Linked DNA regions of Homo sapiens: all the other regions are linked to region 1. The links are contacts of gene promoters, found by promoter capture Hi-C in blood cells and fetal thymus (Javierre and others, 2016). All regions are on one chromosome and are shown on one strand. The core of a region is centred on a gene start or on the middle of the fragment in contact, and the rest is flanking DNA. Distances in the headings are between cores, read along the strand shown. Region 1 holds the start of RPS13 (ribosomal protein S13). Region 2 overlaps PRMT3 (protein arginine methyltransferase 3). Region 3 holds the start of BTBD10 (BTB domain containing 10).

What was found. The method cuts DNA at HindIII sites, captures the fragments that hold promoters and counts their contacts. A CHiCAGO score of 5 or more calls a contact.
Region 2: a contact is called between a fragment that was not itself captured here and the fragment with the promoter of RPS13 in region 1, in 2 of 17 cell types (total B cells and non-activated CD4 T cells). The highest score is 7.9, in total B cells.
Region 3: a contact is called between a fragment that was not itself captured here and the fragment with the promoter of RPS13 in region 1, in 1 of 17 cell types (fetal thymus). The highest score is 7.9, in fetal thymus.

What each region holds. Positions count from the first base shown.
Region 1 is chr11:17,076,019-17,080,187 of GRCh38, forward strand. It overlaps RPS13 (ribosomal protein S13), which reads right to left and starts at 1,649. Exons shown (of 6, transcript NM_001017.3): 1 at 1,601-1,649; 2 at 1,411-1,459; 3 at 1,150-1,228. The coding sequence starts at 1,623. RefSeq lists an enhancer at 1,683-1,882. The HindIII fragment of the contact is 8,959 bases long and covers 1-2,450 here.
Region 2 is chr11:20,389,039-20,393,287 of GRCh38, forward strand. It overlaps PRMT3 (protein arginine methyltransferase 3), which reads left to right. Exons shown (of 16, transcript NM_005788.4): 3 at 706-788; 4 at 3,173-3,222; 5 at 3,859-3,961. Among named protein-coding and RNA genes, the nearest start is that of PRMT3, 3.4 kb to the left of the region's middle. The HindIII fragment of the contact is 1,671 bases long and covers 1,292-2,962 here.
Region 3 is chr11:13,459,133-13,463,433 of GRCh38, forward strand. It overlaps BTBD10 (BTB domain containing 10), which reads right to left and starts at 4,090. Exons shown (of 9, transcript NM_032320.7): 1 at 3,960-4,090. RefSeq lists an enhancer at 4,270-4,301. The HindIII fragment of the contact is 860 bases long and covers 2,622-3,481 here.

The DNA.
Region 1 (4,169 bases), core at 399-2,898:
TTTCTTTTGATGTGTCATACCTCCAATTAGACTACAAGCTCCAGGAGTACAGATATTTTGCACCCCCCTCCCCCTTTTAAGAGGTGGGATCAGGTGGTGTGGCTCACGCCTGTAATCCCAGCACTTTGGGAGGCCGAGGCAGTGGATCATCTGAGGTCAGGAGTCTGAGACCAGCCTGGCCAACATGGTGAAACCTCGTCTCTACTAAAAATACAAAAATTAGCCGGGCGTGGTGGTGCGGCCTGTAGTCTCAGCTACTCCAGAGGCAGAGGCAGGAGAATTGCTTGCTTGAACCCAGGAGGCGGAGGTTGCAGTGAGCCGAGATCATACCACTGCACTCCAGCCTGGGTGACAAAGTGAGAATCGGTCTCAAACAAAAACACACAAATTAGCTGGGCCTGCTGGCGGGCGCCTGTAATCCCACCTATTCGGGAGGCTGAGGCAGGAGAATCGCTTGAATCCAGGAGGTGGAGGTTGCAGTGAGCTGAGATCGCGCCACTGCACTCCAGACTGGGCGACAAGAGCAAGACTGTCTCAAAAAAAAAAAAAAAAAGAGGTGGGGTCTCTCTGTCACCCAGGAGTGCAGTGGCTTCATCATAGCTCACTGCAGCCTGGGACTTCTAGGCTCTGGTGATCCTCTCACCTCTGCATCCCAAGTATCTGGGACTACAGGCACATTGCGGCTGGCTTTTTTGGGCGGGGGAGTCGGAGAGTAGTATGTTCTCAGGCCCCAGAACCATGTTCAGCACATAGAAGGTAAACATTTGCTGAATGAAGCCACTTGCACGAAGTCACACGCAGCTGAGATTCAAACCACACCTAACTGTGAGGAACTGTGTCAGGCACTCTGCTTAGCCAATTCCAACTCCTCCACTTGACAGCTGTGTGATTTGGGGCTGGTTAGTATCCAGCGGCAGTGTGCCTCTGCTTCCTCAACTGTAAACTGGGGTGAAAGCCATGAAGATTTATTTCAAAGTATTGTGGTCAGAATTAAACGAAATCAGTACATGTGAAGTGCTTACAATGATGCCTCTAGCACGGTGGCGAGACCAGAGTTTTGGCTATTTTTAAAATAACTTTACCACCTACTAGATCCTACAAGTCACACGAGGACAGGCGAAATAGGCTATGTTAGACACAAACACTCACCGATCTGTGAAGGAGTAAGGCCCTTCTTGGCCAGTTTGTAAATCTGCTCCTTCACGTCGTCAGATGTCAACTTCAACCACTGTTATGGAATAGAAAGCAGCCTTAGGATGAGAACCCAGGAATGGCGCCGCAGAACAGCGGTCTCTCCTTCCGCAAAACCGCGCTCCTCATACACGCAAGTTCCTCACCCTGGCGTCGCTTCACCCGAGACAAATGCCAACCCCCTCCCCGGATTCTCCCCGGTCCCAGCGCGCTACTTACAGTGGGGACGCTGCGTCGATAGGGTAAAGCCGACTGGGACAGGCCCTTCCTGGGGAGAGAAGCAGTCTCGAGGTGAGGTGGCGGCTAGTGCCAGAGCAGCCCAGAACATCATCCCCTCGGCCCGCTGCCCACACTCCCTGTCTTCCTCCCACCCCCCGCCCAGCAATCCGGCTTGATGCCCCGAGCTCACCCGGGAGCATGCATGCGACCCATGATGGCGGCGATCAGGCAACGAAAGGAGAGCGAGAGTGGAAACGCCGCAGGAAGCCACCCAACACGCAGGAAGTGACCTCACACGTCCCCGCTTCCTCTCACGCAGGAGGCGGAGCTACGCTGCGCAGCCACCGCCCGTCTGTGTGACTACATCTCCCGAAATGCATTTCAGCGTCGCAAGAGATCGTCAATCCAGCCTCATCCCGGCATGCATCGGTCTTTGGTCAGCCTTGTTGCCAGAGCGGGAATTTGAGGCTGACGCCAGCTTGCGTCGAAATTCCCTGTGGACGCCGAGATCACAAAGATTCGAATGCTGCGCTGGGGGTGGGTATGGAGCAGGTAGGGCTGGAAGAAGCAGCCATACACAGGTGTTTGCTCATTCACCAGTGCCTGGCTTTGTCCTGGCACTAGATCCCTCAGAGTCGGCCCTGCGCCTAATAAATTAACAGATACAATAGCATGTGATGAGGACCACACGGGAAGCCATGGCAGCGGCTACCGCCCAGCCAGCGCTTCCATTTCTCATTTCTAAATCCTACCCTAATCTGTCAGGGGAGAGTCGCTGACGGTGAAGAACCGGTCTAAGGAGTTGAACCAGGTCCCCACGGATGCCTGCCGCCCTCCGCACTCGAATTCCCCTGCGCAGGGCTCTGGGGCGCTGGGCTCGCCGGGGAGAAGGGTTGGGCAGAGGCTTACGGAGCTATGTTCCCAAGTGAGAGAGTTGGCGGGCAGGGAAGAGCCTTGGGAGCAAGACTGCAAAGGCCAAGAGGATGAGGGATAAAATGAAGCATTTGAATTTCATGGGAAAAGGGAACCGTCAAGGAAGAAGCTTTTTTTTTTTTTTGAGACGGAGTTTCGCTCTTGATTCGCAGGCTGGAGTGCAATGGCGCGATCTCGGCTTGCCGCACCCTCCGCCTCCCGGCTTCAAGCGATTCTCCTGCCTCAGCCTCCTGAATAGCTGGGATCACAGGCATGCGCCACCACTTCCAGCTAATTTTGTATTTTTAGTAGAGACGGGTTTTTCCATGTTGGTCAGGCTGGTCTTAAATTCCCGACCTCAGGTGATCCGCCCGCCTCGGCCTCCCAAAGTGCTGGGATTACAGGCGTGAGCCACCGCGCCTGGCCGGAAGAAGCTCTTTTAAGACAGACCTAGCCTGGGCAACATGGCGAAACCCCCTCTCTATAAATACAAAGAATTAGCCGGGCGTGCTCGCTCGTGCCTTTGGTTCCAGCTACGAAGGAGGCTGAGGTGGAGAATCTCTGGAGCCGGGAAGGACATTGCGGTGAGCCGAGATAGCACCACTGCGCGCCAGCCTGGGCAACAGAGCAAGACTCTGTCTTAAAAAAAAAAAAAAAAAAGGAAAGAAAGAAAAAGACTGACTCAGTGCCGGTACACAACAATGCGTTGAAAGAATGGGCAAATGAAGCAGCTTCTTAAAATTTTAAAAAGTAAGCATAGCTCTAGGAAGGAGGGAGGTCAGTGAAATCAAACTCCTGTCGACAAGCTTAAAGTAACTGGCAAGACGCTGGGAAACTAGATACTGAAACATCCGCTCTTAACTTTTAACCTGTCACTATTTGAAATAAAGTTATCAGGGATAGCCGGGCGCGGTGGCTCACGCCTGTAATCCCAGCACTTTGGGAGGCTGAGGCGGGCGGATCACGAGATCAAGAGATCGAGACCATCCTGGCTAACACGGTGAAACCCCGTCTCTACTAAAAATACAAAAAAATTAGACGGGCGTGGTGGCGGGCGCCTGTAGTCCCAGCTACTCAGGAGGCTGAGGCAGGAGAATGGCGTGAACCCGGGAGGCGGAGCTTGCAGTAAGCCACGATCGCACCACTGCACTCCAGCCTAGGTGGCAGAGCGAGACTCCGTCTCAAAAAAAAAGTATCAGGGATAAAGAGAGAACCCTTTATAACAACAAACGGGTCAGTTCTCCAAGAAAACAACACCCCTCCCCCCCAAAAAAGCCATAATCTGTCACTATTTGATTAATAACTTTTCCCAAAGCATTAGGAATTTTAGTCAAATCGGGTACCCTATTTGGGTAATGTTTTTTTCTAGCAAAGTTTATCATTAGCCAATTTTACATTTTTAGTTCAGATATGGAATAGGTATCTCAAATTTAATATGACTCCAATTCCCAAACCATGCCCCTTTGTTTCAGTTAAACACGATCCTGTTTGCTCAAACTTAATACAAACCTAGGCATCTCCGTTTTTCTCTGATTTCCCTCTGTCATCCCAGCTCTACCACAAGAATGTATCATGAATATGTTCCCTTTGCCCCATTTCCACCTTCAGTCCCAGCCACCATCACCTCCTATCTGGGCAACTCTGTAGTATCCACACCGTCTGGTCACGTCCCCACTCTAAACACAACCCACTCTCCACCTAGCAGTCAGAGTGATCCATTAAATACATAAAGCAGATTAATTCATTGCTCCCCTGTGTAAATCCCTCCCATACTTTCTCAATGCACCTAAGATCCAATCCCTGGACCCACGTCTTGCCACTATCCCCCGATTCTAAACGCTCTAACC
Region 2 (4,249 bases), core at 877-3,376, 3.3 Mb after region 1:
GTGGTACCGTGGCTGTGATAGCCTCCATAAATAGTCGACATAACCTATCTCGGTAAACATTTGTGGAAAACTAATGCTCCACATGTGTTAGGAATATAGATAAGGTATACAGCTTCTCTGCTGTGTATTCCTGTCTTTAAGTAGCCTTCAGATTTGCATGTCACATAATAAAGAGGATTGATCCTCACAGTGTCTGTGATGCAAGTACGTTGGGAATACTACAAGATCACTTTTGAAATAAGGCACTTGGGGAGTATGCCAGCTGTAAAATTACATTTTATGCTTTATTTCTAAAAGCAGTTTGAGCTGTGCCAGTTCAAAGCCTCTGAAAGCAGAGTTGACACTTAGAGGAGAAAAGAATCTCAAGTAGAGAAATTGTATGACTTGAGAGAAACAGACTCTATCAAAGGGAACTCTCTTAAAAGCCTTTTGATAAAATCAGTGATATTATTTGACAAATAAATTCACTTTGACATTTAAAGGATAATTGGTTTTAGGTATAAAATGGGACTCAGAAGTACTAATTCCCTTTAAAAGTGCTGGATTCCCTTCCTTTCAGATACAAGTGTGTTTGTTTTTTCTTAATTGGAAGTAAAACTAGAAACCAGCAGAGTTAAAAAAAAAAAAAAAGTGTATATGTAACATGAAATCAGTATTTAGACTTCTTAGGGGACTATTCCATGAAGCTATTGCTTGATTTTTCAGGTTATTCACATCTGCTGAAGAAACATTTTCACACTGTAAGTCTGAGCATCAGTTTAATATTGACAGCATGGTTCATAAACATGGTGAGTAGTTTTTAGAATAAAGGCAATTTAATTTGTGAAATTTGGGCAGGCATGGCAGCTCACACCTGTAATCCCAGCACTTTGGGAGGCTGAGGTGGGTGGATCACTTTAGGTCGGGAGTTCAAGACCAGCCTGGCCAACATGCTGAAACCCCACCTGTACTAAAATACAAAAGTTATCTGGGTGTGGTGACGCACACCTGTAATAGCAGCTGCTCAGAAGACTGAGGCAGGTGAATTGCTTAAACCTGGGAGGCAGAGGTGGCAGTGAGCTGAGATGGTATCACTGCACTCCAGCCTGGGCAACAGAGTGAGACTCTTCTCAAAAAAAAAAAAAATCTGTGAAATATAAGTTCAGATTTTATAGTTTTTCAGACCCTTTTCTGTACGAGTTTAATATGGCGAATCACACAGCAACATCTTGTGGAAATGGAGTTTTTTTGACAAGCGGTCCTTGAGAAAAGATGAATAAGTCACTCTTCTAGACAAGATTCACTGTATTTAAGCTTATATTAGCTTTTCAACTAAAAACAAAAACAGACTTGGCATGTGATTACATTTTTACATTTTATGTGATTACATATTAGATTTAGGGAGAGCAAGTGTAGATGTAGGACTTGAAAAAGGACGCAGGTCATTTGAAAAAAGACAATCAGCTCAAAGCATGACATGAACTTCACAGCCTACGAGACTGAGTTTTATACAAAGTTCGGTAGAGACTGGAAAAAGAGTGATGAAGTTAAGATTAATATGCAAAATACTCAGGTGATGTTTCTATTGAAACTTTTATTTAAACACACTTGCCTTACAATTAAGGCCTTCCACTTTAAATGGATGTAGAAGAGCTATACTACAATAAAATTAACTAAATAGGCCAGGTGCTGTGGCTCACGCCTGTGATTCCAACACTTTGGGAGGCCAAGGCAGGTGGATCACAAGGTCAAGAGATTGAGACCATCCTGGCTAACCCAGTGAAAACCTTTGGGAGGCCAAGGCGGATGGATCACAAGGTCAGGAGATCGAGACCATCCTGGCTAACCCAGTGAAAACCCAACTCTACTAAAAATACAAAAAATTAGTCGGGCATGGTGGCATGTGCCTGTAGTCCCAGCTACTTGGGAGGCTGAGGCAGGAGAATTACTTGAACCCGGGAGGCGGAGGTTGCAGTGAGCTAAGATCATGCCACTGCACTACAGCCTGGGTGACAGACTGAGACGCCGTCTCAAAAAAAAAAAAATAATAGGTTTTTTGGTCCCTATATTTGTTGACAACTAAGAAGGGACATTACTGAAGAATAGCAAATACTAACAGGTGTTTCAGTGTCAGATAAATACGTGATATCACATGTTTATAAATCATAAATTCAACTGCAAGTACTTTCGTAAGGCATAAATGACAGCCTCATTTTTTAATGTTTTTTGTTTTTGTTTTTTTTTTGAGACGGAGTCTCGCTCTTGTTGCCCAGGCTGGAGTGCAATGGCACGATCTCGGCTCACTGCAACCTCCGCCTCCCGGGTTCAAGTGATTCTCCTGCCTCAGCCTCCCAAGTAGCTGGGATTATAGGCATGCGCCACCACACTGGCTAATTTTGTATTTTAGGAGAGACAGGGTTTCTCCATGTTGGTCAGGCTGGTCTGGAACTCCCGACCTCAGGTGATCCGCCTGCCTTGGCCTCCCAAAGTGCTGGGGTTACAGGCATGAGCCACTGTGCCCAGCCTTAATGTTTTTAATGTTGCATTTCTAAAGTATTAGAATCATACTTAAGATAGAATTTTGTTTTGTTTTTTTTTTACTTACCGATATAGGGGGTTTGTATACTATTAAAGTTTTCTCATAACAAGAGTTTTATGACAAATAATTGGTTGGTTGGATGTATTACTGCTTTCCTTTGTTTTAAATGCTGCTTCATTTCTGGAAAGATACGAGAACCAGATAACAAGCCTTATTGGGCTTGCATCATTTAACTTCATGTAAAAGCTAGTATACACCATGTCCTGGCAAAATTATAATTTGATACACACCATAAAAATTAGGGATTTAATACTTTCAGCTCTGATATCAGTTGCCAAATACTTGGTAAAATGTGGATCTTAATTTTCCAGATTTGTATTGTTCTGACAAAGGAGGAGTAGAATTTTAGAAATCAGTTTTCCATCTTTTTAGAAATACTAGAAAAGCTTTAATTTGTCATTTATGGCTGCTTCTCAAGATATTCAGAAGTATCATTGTATTACTACTTCTAATTCTTAATAAAATTCAAAATATAAGTAGTAATTTAGAGGTCAGAATTATTTTATTGTTTAATCAGAGAAGGCTTTATAGAATAGGTCAGTTAAACAAAACTCATTATGTTAACATAGGTGAATTATCTTTTTCCCCCTTTAGGACTTGAATTTTATGGATACATTAAGCTAATAAATTTTATTAGACTTAAGGTAAGTTGACAGCTTAATTTATAATTTCGTTTAGAAATCAAAGAAATGCTACAGTGACTGTCAGTGTACTGATTATTTAAAAGAATATGAGGAACTGCATTAAATTTGGTACTCATCATATTGGGGGAATCACGGACATTAGGAGGTAGCACAGCAGAAAGCACCATGTAAATGTCTACCATAACTAACAAATATTGTTTTCACTGCATCTAAGAGATGAATCGGTGTATGTGAAAAAGTAATTCAGTGTCAAATAAAGGGAAATACTGATGGACAGGATCTGTAAAATCAGAAATAATTTCTAATGTGATTTTAAGTATTTTGGTTGCTCTTTTTTATTCTGTTTTTTTTCAGATACTTTGTTTTTTTTTTTTTTTGTCCTGTTTAAATGAATGTTTAATGACATGACAACGCTTTCCCCAAATCCAAACAGTAAAAAAAACTCTGCGTTGAAACTGCTGGTTAAGCAGTCGTCCAGCAAGTTAATGAAATGACAGGCACGTAGACTTTTTGGAGACATACTGACTTTGTGTAATGCAAACATGATTTCCTTTTTGTTTAATTTCTGTAGTTTTTACTAAGGGGATTTTGTGATTATATGTAATGAAAAAAACATGAGATTAATTTTATATCCAGAATCCTACAGTTGAGTACATGAATTCCATATACAACCCAGTGCCTTGGGAGAAAGAAGAGTATTTGAAGCCAGTATTAGAAGATGACCTTTTACTTCAATTTGGTAAGATGAACATAAGTGTATCTCCTTTAATTAACATAAGGCCGTTTGTTAACGGCAAAATGGAGGTAGAGTGTTTTAGGAAAAGACATGCTTTTTAAAATTATCTAAATGCTTCATCAGGTAGTTAGTTTCAGTAGAAAAGTTAAGTTGCTTAAAAACTAATAGTCGGCCAGGTGTGGCGGCTCACGCCTGTAATCCCAACACTTTGGGAGGCTAAAAGGGCAGATCACGAGGTCAGGAGATCCAGACCATCATGGCTAACACAGTGAAACCCCATCTCTACTAAAA
Region 3 (4,301 bases), core at 1,802-4,301, 3.6 Mb before region 1:
TGCAAGCTCCGCCTCCCGGGTTCACGCCATTCTCCTGCCTCAGCCTCCCAAGTAGCTGGGACTACAGGCGCCCGCCACTACGCCCGGCTAATTTTTTTTGTATTTTTAGTAGAGACGGGGTTTCACCGTTTTAGCCGGGATGGTCTCGATCTCCTGACCTCGTGATCCGCCCGCCTCGGCCTCCCAAAGTGCTGGGATTACAGGCGTGAGCCACCATGCCTGGCTGGCTGATTGCTACATTCTTTAGCAAACTAGGTCTCAGTTTCAAGGATCTCAAAGTAAACCCGAGCAAGATACACTAGGGGAAATGCAACATTGGCTTGAACCCTGATGAAGAATCTATTAAAAAGGGAGAAAAATTTTAATAGTTCTTTCTCCATTAACAGGAGAAGGTAACATCTGTATCTTCCTGACCCGCCTTACTTTCGGTTCAGAATCAACAAAAAATAAAGGATCCAAACAGATGATGGTAAAAATATAACTAAATCCAACGTGCAAAAACCCTTATTACTTCAACTGCAAATTAAACTTACCCAGTTAGAACTGTAGGCATTCCATTTCCTTCTCCCTCATAGTATTAGTAGTCCAGCCTGCTCAGATAAGCCTACCATACAAATGAATAGACAATGTATAGCCTAAGAATTGAGAGTCCCAAAAATTGAATCATAAGGCACTGAACAAAAGTATACTCAATCCCTTCCCTTAGCCTCCCCTGATCCTCCTTTGGGATGGCAACTCAGGGGATGGGAAGAAGCGGAAAGCTATTTCCAAAAAAGAACTTCCTACTTTATGAGTCATGGTAGAAACAAGTAAAGACGAAAATAATGGTTCCCCCTTCAACAAGCACAATCTTCTCAAATATAAAACAAATTCCTCAGAAGTAGTCTTATAACTCTTCAACAGGAGCACCTCACAAACATAATACATATCTCCTCTTCTTTCATTTCCTATTTCAGAGAGAGGCAGAGATTGAATGAACAGATATTAGCCTAGCTTGGCCTGAGATGACTGAGCTAAAATGAAGAAAAGAAAATCTGCAAATTCCCATAGCAGTCCTGATTAAAAACCAGTATTCTATGTAGTCTCTGCACAAGTTATGATAAATTTAGCCACAAAAGGCAGACCTCTTTTTAAAACTGCACAATACACAAATGGGTACTTAATCATTTCATCTTCCTTTTCAAAATTCTCTCCCTTACCTAACTTCCTCTCTCACCCTTATCCCAAGTGAAGACCCCCAACTTGCCCTCTATATGCCTAAAAAACACCTCTTACTTAGCTTTGACCTCTAGCACTCCCATTCCCCATAACCCAACTAGGTATGAATCAGATTATGTGATTAAATTACTTCACATTAATGGGTAAATGAGGCTTAATCCACAAAGGTCAATTCCACACGTCATTAAACTCTACTATGTATAAGGCACTAAGTTTAATCAATTAATATACCTATCCTTCTTACAAGAAAAACTAACACAAATCAATCTTTTAATGAACAATGTAAGGAAGGGGCACAAGAGTGTTTGCTTCACATCACACTTTCTCCACCCAGTTCTTTCCATCCTGTTGCCAAACCCCTCCAATCTCCATCTGGCATGGAATAAAATCCAAGGGATCAGTATTTCTTCCAGTAAGTCAATGCCTAGGAAGACAATGTGGGATAGCACAGCAAACAATAAACATTCAAATCCTGAAATGGACTGTAGAGGGTCTCTTGTATTTAATTTTATATATTAGCTGCAAATACAATAAAGAGCTTCTAAATAATTCAATTTCTGTACAAGATACCTATAAATCAGCTTTGCTCAGAACTCTGAGTTTTTAAACCATAAATACTGAGATGCTTTTTCTTCAGTTATTTCCACAGTTAAAACGTTTATAGTAAATACCAGTTCAAATTGCCCTACTATAACTATACTTAAAGGCTATTAAACTTAACTACTGTTTTCAATTAGATGTGACATTTTTCCCAAGACCCCTTAAGTTTGAAACTCCAAACTTGCTTTAAACCTCCTTTTTTTCCAGTCATAAAATTTATTAATTTTGATTTATAACAGAGCTTCTAAACTGGAGAGGAGAATACAACTATGGACAGGTTTGGATTTGATTCAGTCACATGATATTTTTAATGGTTTTAATTAGTTGTCAATATTTTTAAGACGCAAGACACTGAATGCAAAAATCTAGATTTCCGAGTTCTCTTGAGAATGCTGAAGATGGGGTCCATATTCTTATATAGCACTGATTAGGGGGACCTGAGACTTGGATGTCTCTCTGATAAGGCATAGTGCATTTCCCTCATTTTCATTATCTAACTAGTACCCGAAGGCATGTGAGTTTGTTGCTCATGCTATGGCTTTGAAAGGTGCACAATATTTTCCATATCACTTCCATACTTCCCTAAGTCACCTATTATAAAAAGCCAAAAGCAGACCACAGTGGTTTGCAACTCCATAGTTAATAATTTAAAAAATTCACATGGCTTAGAGGGAGTGAGAAAGAAGAAAATTCAGACTGGTGGAAGGGTAACATAATTACATAGGGTTAGAAGTCTATCTGAAAGCTTTTCTGGGAGTGAGAAAAAAGGTGAACGAACACAAAAACATTGTTGAAACACTAAAAGCTTTCCTGATTGAACACTGTTACTCTCTGGTGGTTCCTTACCACATTCCATGCTTCAGAAACTTCCTTCCTACTTTGTATGTATTAATATAATAGCTGTTAGGTCATACACGCTGAGAAATATTGGGAAAATTTATAAAACACATTTACATCATCAGAAATAATTCTTCTCACACTTTTTTTTTTTTTTTTTTTACCAGTCTTGGTCCACTTTCAAATCCCTTCCCAAGTATTTTCTACTGCTTTCCGCTTTATATTCAAATGACAACTGCAGTCCTGGGTTTCAGGACTGAACTTCAATCCTGGACAGGCTCTCTAATACAGAAACTCTTTTGGCCGTTATGGCTGCATTCTTTATTATATCTCTTATTCCGATTTCCACAGTCTCTTTCATTGAAAATTTATCCCTAACCCCCTCTCTAAAAGATTTTGATCAAATTTGTGTAGTTGGGGGGTTGGGAGGATAGGGGCGGGAAGGAACTCAGTTGTCCAAATACAATTAATATCCTGTGCTGTTTCATTTAGATTGCTAATTTAAATAAAAAGCATGAAAACTCTGCAAGATAATAAATCTTCGTAAAATAATCTTGTTTACTAAGTGCACAAAGCCACAAGCAAGTGAAGCTCTATCTTTCAGCATGTCTGGACTAGTGACTTTTCATCATGGACTCAGAATACTGAGAAAGGAGAAGCAGGAAATCTGTGAGGCCCAGGGACAGTCACACTGGCCCACACTAACAAATTACTAACCGATGTCTCACCTTCCCCCGCCCCATTCCCAAAGATAAGGGTGTCAGGGCACCTGCATCTGAAGAAGAAAGACATCAGAACCTTTTCCGTGCAAGTTTTAAGAAAACAAAGCTTTACCACACGTAAAATGGTTACAACATAAAACCACGCAGCACGTTAGTGGGGTCTCACTCCTCTTCACCCAGAGGGAGGCTGCCCACCACCTTATCCCCTATTGTGATGCGCCTTCCTCAGGATGTCGCTGCGTTCGTCTGAGATGACAGGAAAGGGGCGGGGCACGGGGTTCCTCTGCCCTGGAAAGGGATGAGGGTATCGCCTTCATCCCCGGAGAAAGGCCCCCGGACTCCCAACCCAAAAGCAGCAGCCGCAAAACTCAAGTCTTATCCCGGCCTCTCCTAATTGGGTGCTCGTGGCCGGAGCCCAAAACGCCACCCACGGTACCCGAGCAGGGTCCGGCCGCCCAGACCACCGCCGCAGCAGCCTGGCTCTCACGCCCAGATTCGCCCTCCGCCCCTTTCCTCTTTCGCCCCGGCCAAGCCCAGCCTCCCGCGCCGCCCCCGCCGAGTTCCCCAGCTGAGTCCACTCACTCTCGAACCTGTAGTCCCCCTTCAGTGCCCACACAAGATTGGGGCAAAGGCCGGGGCCAGTGACACCTCCACTTCCTCCTCAGCCAGATCCCTCCGGAGGTGGCTGTGGAGGAAGCCACTGAGGCGGCTGCGCGTAGCGGAGCCGCCCCGGCAGGTTGCAGGCCGGCTCCTCAGCCTCTTACCGCGAGAGCTCACAATGCGAAGAGGCGAGGCCAGCAGCGTTCTCGCGAGAACGGTGCTCTCCGCCCAGGGGTGGGCGGGGCACCGAAGGAGAAGGCAGTTGAGGGCGCGGCGGCCACGGGTGGGATCTCAGGCGCGTGGAGAGGAAGGCGCCGCGCGACC